Linked DNA regions of Homo sapiens: region 2 is linked to region 1. The links are contacts of gene promoters, found by promoter capture Hi-C in human tissues and cell types (Jung and others, 2019). All regions are on one chromosome and are shown on one strand. Each heading gives the region's core, a stretch centred on a gene start or on the middle of the fragment in contact. The rest is flanking DNA. Distances are from core to core; before and after follow the strand shown.

Region 1 (6,150 bases), core at 1,662-4,161:
AATCATGTCATCTACAGGACCCAGGCTGTTCAGGTCAAGGGTCGCCTACAGGACTGGGCTGAGCCGCCCTCAGCCCCTCCTTGGCCTTGCTCCCATGCTTGTGAGCACTCAAAGTCCAGAGCGGGCCGAGGCAGCAAGGGGCTGGCATGCTAGCACTGCCCTCAGTGTGTGCACACCTGGCTGGGTTGCAACAGCGCCTGGGCTTGGCTTCAGCTTTGTCGGGAGTCAGGAGAGGCCAGGTAGCAGCTGGAGGCACTTCTGAGCTTTCGGGGGCAGGTGGGGTGGCTTCCCAGCCCTGGGATTGCAGGGATACCTGGGTCCACAGCCGTGGCTGGGCAGATGCAGCTGCTCCCAGGAGGGTGGGGCTCCTGTCCTGCCAACTTGGAAGGGGGCAGGGCTCCCACATGCTCAGTGGAGCACAGAGTCCCAGCTGAGCCTCCCCTGCTGTAGCCAGCATCTTCCCAGCAGCCACTCAAGAGAGGCTGCCACTGCCATCAATGGTATAACTGACATTTCACAATCAATAGCTTCTGCTGGTAACTTCACAAAAACCTGACCTAAGAGATCTTTAGTACCTATTGGTTAAATAAGGTATTAAATAAGTATGTCAATACTATATGCTGTATGTGGGTAAATTCCTCTGGAACACTGAGATCCATTTACACACAGAAAGAAAACAGGCACATGGTTACAAGTCTCGTGTAATTTCTATGGCCATTTTATTTATTCAATTGGCTTCCTTTAATCTCTATTTTTCTATTTTTGTTTTCTAATTTTTTTCTTTTTAATTGCTTTCCTTTAAGCCTAGGTTCATGGGTCAAAACCAATATGCAAACTGGGATAGTCATATTATTATTGATTTTACCTTGTATTTTCCCCTTTTAAACTTATTCATTGCCATATTTTGCAAAAGGACAATTTCTTTTTTTTTATTTTTTTGAGATGGAATCTCACTCTGTTGCCAGGGTGAACTGCATAGGCACAATCTCAGCTCATAGCAACCTCCGCCTCCTGGGTTTAGGTGATTCTCCTGCCTCAGCCTCCTGAGTAGCTGGGACTACAAGTGCGCACCACTACATCCGGCTAACTTTTGTATTTGTAGTGGAGACAGGGTTTCACCATGTCGGCCAGGATGGTCTCGATCTCTTGACCTCGTGTTCCACCCGCCTCGGCCTCCCAAAGTGCTGGGATTACGGACGTGAGCCACCGCGCCCGGCTACAAGTACAATTTCTAACAGAATAATGCTGACACAGCACTTTGAGATGATAGAAAGACTACAGAAGTGACAAAAGTTGAAGTTAATAATGGACTCCAGGTTAGACTTAGCCTGAGAGCCACACCCTTCAAACCTCCTTTGATGCTCAAATATGGTAAAAAAGGGTTTTGACAATGACTCCCAGCAGCCACTCTCTCCAGTGTGGGACCAGACCAGCTATCTGGGACAAGTTCATCCCAGCACGGGGACTATCAAAACCTAATTACAGGATGACTCATTAGTGATGCATTTGGAGAAAGATCTCAATCAAAAGGGGAAAATACCCAAGTTGTCAAATAAAAGTGGACTCACTTATGTTTAAAAAATACCTTGACAAAGACAGCTGGGAAAGGCCATGGAGAATTCTCATGAATCAATAATAAGAAAAACTATCACAAGATTCTGCAAAAACCACAACCTTGCACTAAGGCAATCTTACACAAAAAATACTTCAGCAAGGACAGCTGCCCAGCAACTGCCTGTCCAACCCTGGAACGGGAGTACACTTGTTTTTTTTTTTTTTTAGACGGAGTCTGGCTCTGTCGCCCAGGCTGGAGGGCAGTGGCGCGATCTCGGCTCACTACAAGCTCCGCCTCCCGGGTTCACGCCATTCTCCTGCCTCAGCCTCCCGAGTAGCTGGGACTACAGGCGCCCGCCACCACGCCCGGCTAATTTTTTGTATTTTTAGTAGAGACGGGGTTTCACCGGGTTAGGCAGGACGGTCTGGATCTCCCGACCTCGTGATCCGCCCGCCTCGGCCTCCCAAAGTGCTGGGATTACAGGCGTGAGCCACCGCGCCCGGCCGGGAGTACACTTGTTACTGTTCTTTGTAGCCAAGGTTAATTATTTCCAAACCATTATCTTCCTCTTCATTTTTTCTTTAAAAACCATTACTTTCCTGAATGCGCAAATCGTTTACTATGGCACGCATATTCGCCAACGCCCTATTCCCAAATAAATATCATTTTCAGTTAGCCTGTTATTAGGTTGACAATCATTATCACTCCCTCTCCCGTCCGTGGCGCTCCCACGGCAAAACATCAGCCCACTGTCCACCGCGAGGCTGCATCCAGGCAGACAGGCATAGCTGGGGAATGACACACTCGCGTTGACTGGATTTACTGTAACTGGACCCAAATCTCAGACCAGCCGGCGGCCTCTCCAAGGAAGCCCGAGGCGAGGAAGATCCTAGTCGACGTGCACTCCCAACCAGGTCTGTCACAGGTCGGCCCTCGCATTTAAACGTTAAATGTTGAAGGGCTTTCATAAAAGAGCGATGTGCTCCTGCTTGTATGAGCCGGGGCCGGAGGCCGGTAACAGCGGCACGGGACGGGAGCGAGCCTCAGAATGCGGGAATGTCTGTGGGCCTCCGGGACAGTGGAGGGAGCGGGTCTAGTGAAGCGCGACGACTCTGGGGTGGCAGAAGTGAGGACTATGGGCCCCACGGGGACCGAGGGAACGCACAAAATCGTCCCAAGAGACGAAACGCCGGGCCGCGGAAGGGCCCTCAATGCTATCTCCGGCAAGCGCGGCGTTTCGCATCGCTCCCAAAGGCGGCGGCGACACCTTATGACGTCCTGTTGTTCCGCACGTCGTCGCGTCACACTAGGCGCCGGCGCGGGGTGCTGATGTCAGGACGCCGCCGCTTGGCGCCGTGACGCTCAGCCGGGCCTTGTGGAGTGCGGGTCTCTGCTGCGGACGCCGGGGGCCGGCGCGGCGTTGGCCGCCCCCGGCCTCGCCGAGTGCAGCGCGCCCGAAGGCCAGTGCCTGCGCTCCGTCCGCGGCCCGGCGCCCAGGGTGGGCGGGGAGGCCGCCGCGCAGTCGCCGCACGCTACACCGCCGGCGCCGTCGTTTCGCGTCGCCCGCTTCCGGCCACCGCGGCCGCCATTTTGTTCGCGCGGAAGCGCCGCGGTAGGGTGGGAACCCAAGCGGGAGAGCCGCGGGATTTGCGGCCGCCGCCATGCCGTCGTCCCCGCTGCGGGTGGCGGTGGTGTGCTCGAGCAACCAGAACCGGAGCATGGAGGCGCACAACATCCTCAGGTAGTTGGGCTCCACCCTGTCCCCGCGCGCTCTGCTCCGGCGACCGGCCCTCCCTCCTCCCCGGTTCCCCCTGGCCCGCGCCAGGACCCCTGAGAGGAAGCCGGGCCGGGCCGCGCTCGTGGGTCGGCTGGTTGGGATGGCAGCTGGACGGCAGCGCGCGTAGTCCACACGCGGGTGGGCATCACAGGGAAGGCAGGTTCCGGGACGAGGCGCCCGCTGTCCGGTGGTCCTTCGAGCTCTCCGAGGCCGGGCCCGGGGGGCGAGGGTAGCGTCCGCGGCGAGGGGCTGCGCGGCGGCGGCCGATCATGGTATTTCGTGTGCGTCGTTGGCCACCTTCCCTGGAAACGGCGCGCAACACAATCACGGCATACCACGATGTTGTAAATAACAAAGCGGTCTCTTTTTTTAATGCCATGGATTTGTGTGTTTGCTACTTCTTCTTCTTTTTTTTTTTTTGCGAAAGATCCTCTCTTCCTCCCTGGAACGCCTCCAACCGGTAGTTTCTGGAATACAACGTGGACTTGGTTTGGCTCTGCTAGTTTATATTCCCTGCTAACTGGCCGCCTGTGACTCTTGCGTAGCGTATGTCTAATGAAAGTTTATTCCTGCTTGATAACAAGTTTTTTGTTCAGTCACATAGCAAACTGAGAAACTGACCACTTGACTTACAGTTAAAATTTGGTATGTGTCAACTTTGATAGTAAGAAAGTTGAAATGGCTTTTTTACCTCCAAAGTTACCTACGTGAACTTTAAATGAAAACAGTGTTTCGCTTCTCTTCTCGCAGTCCAGCTATAACTTTCCTGAGCAACTTGGGAAAATTAACAGTCCCCCTTTTTTTTCCGTTTTTAACAGTGTCACGTGGGCCAGGCACGGTGGCTCACGCGTGTAGTCCCCGCACTTTGGGAGGCCGACGCACGCGGATCACCTGAAGTCAGGAGTTGGAGACCAAAAAACACCCCCCAAAAATCAGTGTCAAGTGTTCATGATCTGCTGATTCTTTCTCTTTATTCTTTTCTTTCTTTTTTTTTTTTTTTTTTTTTTTTTTTGAGACAGAGTCTTGCTCTGTCGCCCAAACTGGAGTGCAGTAGCGCGATCTCGGCTCACTGCAACTTGTGCCTCCCGAGATCGAGCTATTCTCCTGCCTCAGCCTCCCGAGTAGCTGGGACTACAGGCACCGGCCACCAGGCACGGCTAATTTTTTTTTTTTTTTGTATTTTTAGTAGAGACGGAGTTTCATCATCTTAGCCAGGATGGTCTTGATCTTATGACCTCGTGATCTGCCCGCTCGGCCTCCCAAAGTGCTGGGATTACAGGCGTGAGCCACTGCGCCCGGCTTTTTTTGTATTTTTAGTAGAGACGGAGCTTCACCATGCTGGCCAGGCTAATCTCAAACTCCTGACCTCAGGTGATCTGCCCGCCTCGGCCTCCCAAAGTGCTGGGATTACAGGCGTCAGCCACCGCATCCGGCCAAAGGTTGTTTTTAAAACTAGAAATGTGCTAGAATTACATTGTGCTGGATCTTCATTTATAAACTGCAGTTACCTGTAAAAATTTGATACATTTAAGCAAAACAATGCAAGGCTCACCCCCCCCCCCCCAAGACAAAATTATTGTTAATTGGAATAACAAATGGGCTGGAGACCTTCTGGTTCTGCTGGTTCTCCTTGGTGATCCTTTGTTCAAGATTTTCTGCTGTACCTGCATAACAAAGATGGAGTAGGCCGGGCGCAGTGGCTCACACCTGTAATCCTAGCACCTTGGGAGGCCGAGATGGGCGGATCACAAAGTCAGGAGATTGAGACTATCCTGGCTAACACGATGAAACCCCGTCTCTACTGAAAATACAAAAAAATTAGCCGGGCGTGGTGGCGGGCGCCTGCAGTCCCAGTTACTCGGGAGGCTGAGGCAGGAGAATGGCATGAACCCAGGAGGCGGAGCTTGCATTGAGCCGAGATCATGCCACTGCACTCCAGCCTGGGCGACAGAGCAAGACTCCATCTCAAATAAATACATAAATAAAATAAAGTTGGAGTAGAATATATATTTTTTTTCTTGAGGGGGAGTCTGTAGCCCAGGCTGGAGTGCAGTGGTGCTATCTCAGCTCACTGCAAGCTCCGCCTCCTGGGTTCACACTATTCTCCTGCCTCAGCCTCCTGAGTAGCTGGGACTACAGGCGCCCGCCACCACGCCCGGCTAATTTTTTTGTATTTTTAGTAGAGACGGGGTTTCACCATGTTAGCCAGGATGGTCTCGATCTCCTGACCTCGTGATCCGCCTGCGTGGGCCTCCCAAAGTGCTGGGATTATAGGCGTGAGCTACTGCGCCTGGCAAGATGGAGTAGAAATCTTAACAAAAGGAAATGTTTTAAAAATTCTATTTAGGGCTGGGCGCGGTGGCTCACGCCTGTAATCCCAGCACTTTGGGAGGCCGAGGCAGGTGGATCACGAGGTCAGGAGATCGAGACCATCTTGGCTAACATGGTGAAACCCCGTCTCTACAAAAAATACAAAAAAATGACCCCGGCATAGTGACGGGCGCCTGTAGTCCCAGCTGCTCAGGAGGCTGAGGCAGGAGAATGGCGTGAACCCGGGAAGCAGGAAGCAGAGCTTGCAGTGAGCTGAGATCCGGCCACTGCACTCCAGCCTGGGTGACAGAGCGAGACTCTGTCTCAAAAAAAAAAATTATTTAGCTATCTTGTTAATAAAATCAGGTTTAGCGGCTACTTTAAAGACATGCCAGTCATAACCTCGCTGAGACGATGACTGAAGATGACCAAGTCCTTTTTAGTTCAGAGTGGCCAGTGGCCGTTGCTGGCAGAGCTGTGGTCTCTGGAAAAGGAGCGGAGAGCACCT
Region 2 (6,150 bases), core at 1,431-3,930, 250 kb before region 1:
TATGTTCTTGGATTTATAGGGAGACCTAGATTTTTTTATGAAAAATGCTTAACAGATTTTTCTTTTTATAACCCACCAGCATATGTTGAGTAGTATTTTAGACATTGTAATATTATGCAAAGCCAATAAATAATCATAATTATATTTTATTTACCTGGCCCTACTTAGCCATTGTATAAGTTCTGATGAATGCTGAAGAAAAGTTCTCTGGTTTGTAATGAGACCATAGTTCTCAGACTTTCCTTTTTTTTTTTTTTGAGACGGAGTATTGCTGTGAAGCCCGGGCTGGAGTGCACTGGCGCCATCTCGGCTCACTGCAAGCTCTGCCTCCCAGGTTCACGCCATTCTCCTGCCTCAGCCTCCCAAGTAGCTGGGACTACAGGCGCCTGCCACCATGCCTGGCTAATTTTTTTGTATTTTTAGTAGAGAAGGGGTTTGACCGTGTTAGCCAGGATGGTCTCGATCTCCTGACCTCGTGATCTGCCCGCCTCGGCCTCCCAAAGTGCTGGGATTACAGGCTTGAGCCACCACGCCCACCTTAAACTTTCAATTTACTTTTCTCACCTGCTTCATTAAATTATCCAACAGTTGTTTATTGATTGTGCTTGTCTTTCTGTTTCAGATCTCACATTCTTGAAGGTGGCATTGAAGAGCACTAAGATCGGAAGATGAGTGAGCTTGACCAGTTACGGCAGGAGGCCGAGCAACTTAAGAACCAGATTCGAGTATGTAGTTGTGTGTGCTTGGTTTTATTAATCATTTGAGTTTCAGGTTAGATGTTACTTGTTTTAGGAAAAATGGTTTACAGGATGACTTGTTCTATGTTTTATATGAAATTGAATCTTAGTTGGCCCAGGATGTACTAATTATAGATCTAGATACTTAGCCTAGTACATTGTTTTTGGGATTTTGCTTTCTGTATACAATTTGTTATTTGAATATACACCAGATGTCTCCGTAGAATTTATAAGTGTCTTTTGCATTCTTTATCATAACCTTGAAAATTTGTGATACCCTGGGCCACTGATCAGACTGTGATATCTACCTCCCTCCCCTGAATATTGGGACTATTGACAGCAGAAAACTTGCTTAAAAGTAAGAGTATTAACAACAATAAAAAAAGTATTTCAGGTATATCTGATGTATTTTTTCCTAATTTTGAAAGATCTTCCCTAGCGGTGATGATTGGAATCTACAGCTTCTGATAGACTGCTAGATGGAGCAGATATATCTAAATCCAAGATAGAGGCCGGGTGTGGGGGGCTCATGCCTGGAATCCCAGCAGTTTGGGAGGCCAAGGCGGGTGGATCACCTGAGGTCGGGAGTTCGAGACCAGCCAGGGCAACATAGTGAAACCCCCATCTCTACAAAAAATATAAAAATTAGCTGGGTGTGGTGGTGTGTGCCTGTATTCCCAGCTACTCAGGAGGCTAAAGTCAGAGAATCCCTTGAACCCGGGAGGCAGAGGATCCAGTGAGCCGAGATTGTGCCACTGCACTCCAACCTGGGCGTCAGAGTGAGACCCTGAAAAATAAAAAAAAAATTGAAGATAAATTTATTTACCGTGTGTAAATAAACTGCACTGTAAAAAGAATACCTTTCACAGAATTCTAAAACATTAAATTCCAGTCTGTGACTGATGTAGGATGTTAAATTGCAGAGTTCATAAACTTTTATTTGAGAGAGAGTTTCACTCTGTTGTGCCCAGGCTGGAGTGCAGTGGCGCGATCTCGTCTCACTGCAACCTCTTTCAAGCAATTCTCTTGCCTCATAACTTTCTGAAAAGGGAGGAGCAGTAGGTCTAAATGGAATTCATTCTGCTGCTCCTACTTTTGTGAAGCAGTACTTCTAGTAAATATTTTATAGAGAAACATTTAATGCAAGTATGTGTTTCCTTTCTGAAACTGCTGATGTGAAGAGTAAGAGAAAAAGAGGCAGACTTCTCAGGAAAAACCACGTCTTCAGTATGTTTTTAGGTTTTGTCCATTTGATGTAAGAGCTTTCTCTTACTCTTGTTTGCTCTGTCAAGCTTTAGCTGTTCTTCAGAGTGTCGCTGTACAGGAAGCTGATGACATTCAGTACATACCTAAATAACAGTTTATAAGCTGGGTATGGTGGTGCGCGCCTGTAGTCTGAGCTACCCAGGAGGATCACTTGAGCCCAGGAGGTTGAGGCTGTATAGTAAGCTGTGATTGCACCACTGCACTGCAGCCTAGGTGACAAAGTGACACCTTCTCAAAATACAGTAAAATAAAATAAAAAACAACAGTTTATTTTTCTGACTCCAGTGCAAGGATGAAGTCAAGTATTTCCTTTTAAACGGCCAATTACATGTTTAGAAAGCCCACCAGGATTTGGAGAGAGAAACACCAACATAATTTTAGGCAACTTGTTCCTGAACTTGAGAAAAAATAATGGAATTCTCTGAGATTTACAGCCAAAGAGAAAACAAAGTATCCTCTACTGTAAGAATTTTAAATCTTAACATTTAAAAGATCTTACATAGGTGAATAGGGAAGACTTAGATTTTTTTAATAGTTTGCTCTGATCAGACTTGTTTAACATGTCCCCTCCACCAAAATTAATCAAATGTGTTCTGAAATATTTAGTTTGATATAAAATTATTCTCTGAAATATCTATTTAAATAAAACCAAAAGGTATTCAAATTTTGCCTGACTTAATACTTAAGCTTCTGCTGTTCATTTTAAGTCAGCATGGTTTTTGGCAAGTAAAAAAGAAAAGCAAAGTGTTGTTATTTAATAATAATCTAACTGGGTTTTTGGGGGGGTTCAGAACACTCTCAGCTCTTTACCACCTGCTTTTGAGACTATATTTCATCTTATAGAAATCAGATTTTTTTTTTTTTTTTTTTTTTTTTCTGGAGACAGTCTCGCCCTGTTCCCCAGGCTGGAGTGCAGTGGCGCGATCTCAGCTCACTGCAAGCTCCTCCTCCTGGGTTCACACCATTCTCCTGCCTCGGCCTCCTGAGGAGCTGGGACTATAGGCGCCCGCCACCACACCCGGCTAATTTTTTGTACTTTTAGTAGAGATGGGGTTTCACCGTGTTAGCCAGGATGGTCTCGATCTCCTGACCTCGTGATCCGCCCACCTCGGCCTCCCAAAGTGCGGGGATTACAGGCATGAGCCACCACGCCCGGCCTAGAAATCAGAATTTTAAAGTTTACCCTGAAAATGTCTTAAATAGTAGGGTGATTTGGCATATTTGAAGAAATTTTGTTTTTCTGACAGCTATAAGTTGTTCACAAATAGTGGACTTGGATCTATTCATAGCAGATGGAAAGAGCTTGTATGGCACAGGTGAAAGACACCCAAATTTAAAAAATTAAGGCCAAAAGGAACTGTTGCACCTCCTTCCGAGGTTTGGACCCTGTCACGTTGTGAATTCCCCAGGGCCTTCTTGCACAGGGGGCTCCCTCTTGGGCTGGCACAAATGTCACGTGACATTCCCCACATGCTCTTGTTGCCACATAAAAAATGTAAAAAGAGGTCGGGCGCGGTGGCTGACGCCTGTAATCCCAGCACTTTGGGAGGCTGAGGCATGTGGATCACAAGGTCAGGAGATCGATACCATCCTGGCTAACACGGTGAAACCCCGTCTCTACTAAAAGAAAAAAAATACAAAAAAAATTAGCCAGGTGTGGTGGTGGTGGGCGCCTGTAGTCCCAACTACTTGGGAGGCTGAGGCAGGGAATGGCGTGAACCTGGGAGGCGGAGCTTGCAGTGAGGCGAGAGCGCGCCACTGCACACTCCAGCCTGGGAGACAGAGCGAGACTCCGTCTCAAAAAAAAAAAAAAAAAAAGTAAAAAGAGAGACGGCCAGGCACCGTGGCTCATGCCGTTAATCCCAGTACTTTGGGATACCAAGGCAGGAGGATTGCATGAGCCCAAAAGCTTGAGACCAGCCTTTGTAAGGTAGAAAGGCCCTGTCTTTTGAAAAAGAATGAAAAGAAACGGGTGGAATTAACCCTAACAAGGTTTTTTTCATTTTTTTGTTTGTGTGTTTTGAGACAGGGTCTCTGTCAGTCATTCAAGCTGGAGAGCAGTGGTGCGATCACAGCTCACTGCAGCCTCCCGAGTAGCTGGAACTACAGGAGCATGCTGCCACACCTGGCTGGTTTTTTTCAATTTTGTAGAGACAGAGTCCACCATGTTGCCCCAGCTGGTCTTGAACTCCTAGGGCTCAAGGGATCTTCCCGCCTCAGCCTCCCAAAGTGCTGGCAGGTGTGAACCACCATGCCTGGCCCAACAAATTTTATCTAAGGCAGTATATCTAAAATATTATTTATTATGCAATGTGTAATTAATACATTTTAATTGAGATATTTGACACTGTTTTTGTCCCAAGTCTCCTGGTTCCGTTTGCTGTGCGCAGCAGCCACAGGCAGGTCATGGCCCCCGCGGTGGGACGTTCACTAGGAGAGGCGCCTAGCTGCTTTGTCTCCGAAGTACCAGGAACCGCGCTGTGTTAGTTCCTTTGCACGAGACAGGGACAGCAAAAGCTGTTGAAGTCCTTTTACCCCAAATGGGAAAGGAAGACTTATTTTTAAAATGTAGAACATTTTTTCCTGATTGCCCAAGGAATACGTGCTTGTTAAAGAATGCAGAGCATAGTGAATCAAACAAGAAATTGTAGATGATTCTAAAAGGGGCTGTTTTCTTTCTTAGATTTGTTTTTCAGCCAAAAGACCCTTAAAGGACCTTGCATGCTCCTTTTGATTATTATTGAGGAAACACAGGCTCTCAGAGGGATTCTGATTAAAACATGGTGTGCCTTAAAATACACAGAGTAGCTGATGGAGTAAGGAAAGCTCCACAGGATGCACAGGCGTAGATGTGTTCTGGAGCGGCATGCCAGCCAGTGCAAGGGAGCAGGGTCCATTCGTGCGAGAGGCAGCTGCAATGGATGCCCGGTCCAAAATGTCCAGCGACTCCATGCTGAGCAGGGCCCAGGCTTTAATTTAGGATGAAACCCCAAAGTAAGTGTGTTACTGTGTCATTTGACAAATCCAAAAAGAATGAGAAATCAACTGATGAGTGGCTTGGATATGTTCATCTCTGGTTTAAGTGGACATCATAATATGTATCTACAGGAGTCCATTAAACTGGAAATTAATCTGAAAGAACTTGAAGACTTTTTCTTCTTTGTTAAGCAGTTATAGAGCTTGTTTCCATTAAAAGACTTCTTCCTACAGTTTTAAAAGTTGAAGGTGTCTGTTCTGCAAAGTGCTGCACTCAGTTAAATAAGCTGGTTATTGGCTAAAATAAAGATTGAATTGAAGTTATCTGTGTGTTGTTTTTACAGTAGTTTTTCCTTCGGTTTAACAGTAGTATCACCACAGTCTGTTACACTGTACCTTAAGAAACTCATTTTAGTCATTGGACACTAACCGGGGGAAGTTGCTTAAATCTCATGTTTTATTTTCTCCATTTTAAATTTTCTTATGATGTTTTAAAATCAAAGGCTGTAACATCAACAAGAATAGTATTTCAAAAACAAATATTAAACTCAGTACTTGCCAGTAAAATTCATTGACAAAAAGACTTCTGCTGCTCTAAGTATTCTTCATCCCCCTTACTCCAAATGTTACTGCTTGCATAGAAATACTCGATTTTTTTGTGTGTGTCTTAATTATAAGCAGAATGACCAATAAAGAGCTTAACTAAAGATGAATTTGGAATGTATAAATTTGGTATATTTATAATAATCTCAGTATAGTTCCTTTTTTTTTTTTTTTTTTTTTTTTAAACAGAGTCTCGCTCTGTTGCCCGGGCTGGAGTGCAGTGGTGTGATCTCAGCTCACTGCAACCTCTGCCTCCCAGGTTCAAGCGATTCTCCTGCCTCAGCCTCCCCAAATAGTTACGATTACAGGTGCCGGCCACCATGCCTGGTTAATTTTTGTGTTTTTAGTAGGGATGGGGTTTCACCATGTTGGCCAGGCTTGTCTTGAACTCCTGACCTCAGGTGATCCACCCACCTCAGCCGCCTGAGGTGTTGGGATTACAGGCATGAGCCACTGCGCCTGACCAATATATTTCCATATTATCAGTTTATAATATTCCCACAAGCTTCCTAAAGTAGAAATCATTTGCAGTGAGCAGTTTGCCCCAAAAGCCTGAACCGCTGGGAAC

The links. The method cuts DNA at HindIII sites, captures the fragments that hold promoters and counts their contacts. A contact is called where the count stands out against the background at its distance.
Region 2: a contact is called between a fragment that was not itself captured here and the fragment with the promoter of SSU72 in region 1, in 3 of the 25 tissues and cell types used here (dorsolateral prefrontal cortex, spleen and thymus).

What each region holds. Positions count from the first base shown.
Region 1 is chr1:1,571,624-1,577,773 of GRCh38, reverse strand. SSU72 (SSU72 homolog, RNA polymerase II CTD phosphatase) reads left to right here and starts at 2,911. Exons shown (of 5, transcript NM_014188.3): 1 at 2,911-3,296. The coding sequence starts at 3,217. It overlaps SSU72-AS1 (SSU72 antisense RNA 1), which reads right to left and starts at 2,827. Exons shown (of 1, transcript NR_197593.1): 1 at 703-2,827. RefSeq lists enhancers at 178-720, 2,638-2,707, 2,718-2,827 and silencers at 1,119-1,288, 2,948-3,107, 3,348-3,427. The HindIII fragment of the contact is 14,967 bases long and covers 1-6,150 here.
Region 2 is chr1:1,819,972-1,826,121 of GRCh38, reverse strand. GNB1 (G protein subunit beta 1) reads left to right here. Exons shown (of 12, transcript NM_002074.5): 3 at 623-725. The coding sequence starts at 669. Among named protein-coding and RNA genes, the nearest start is that of NADK, 45 kb to the right of the region's middle. RefSeq lists an enhancer at 1-114. The HindIII fragment of the contact is 4,641 bases long and covers 360-5,000 here.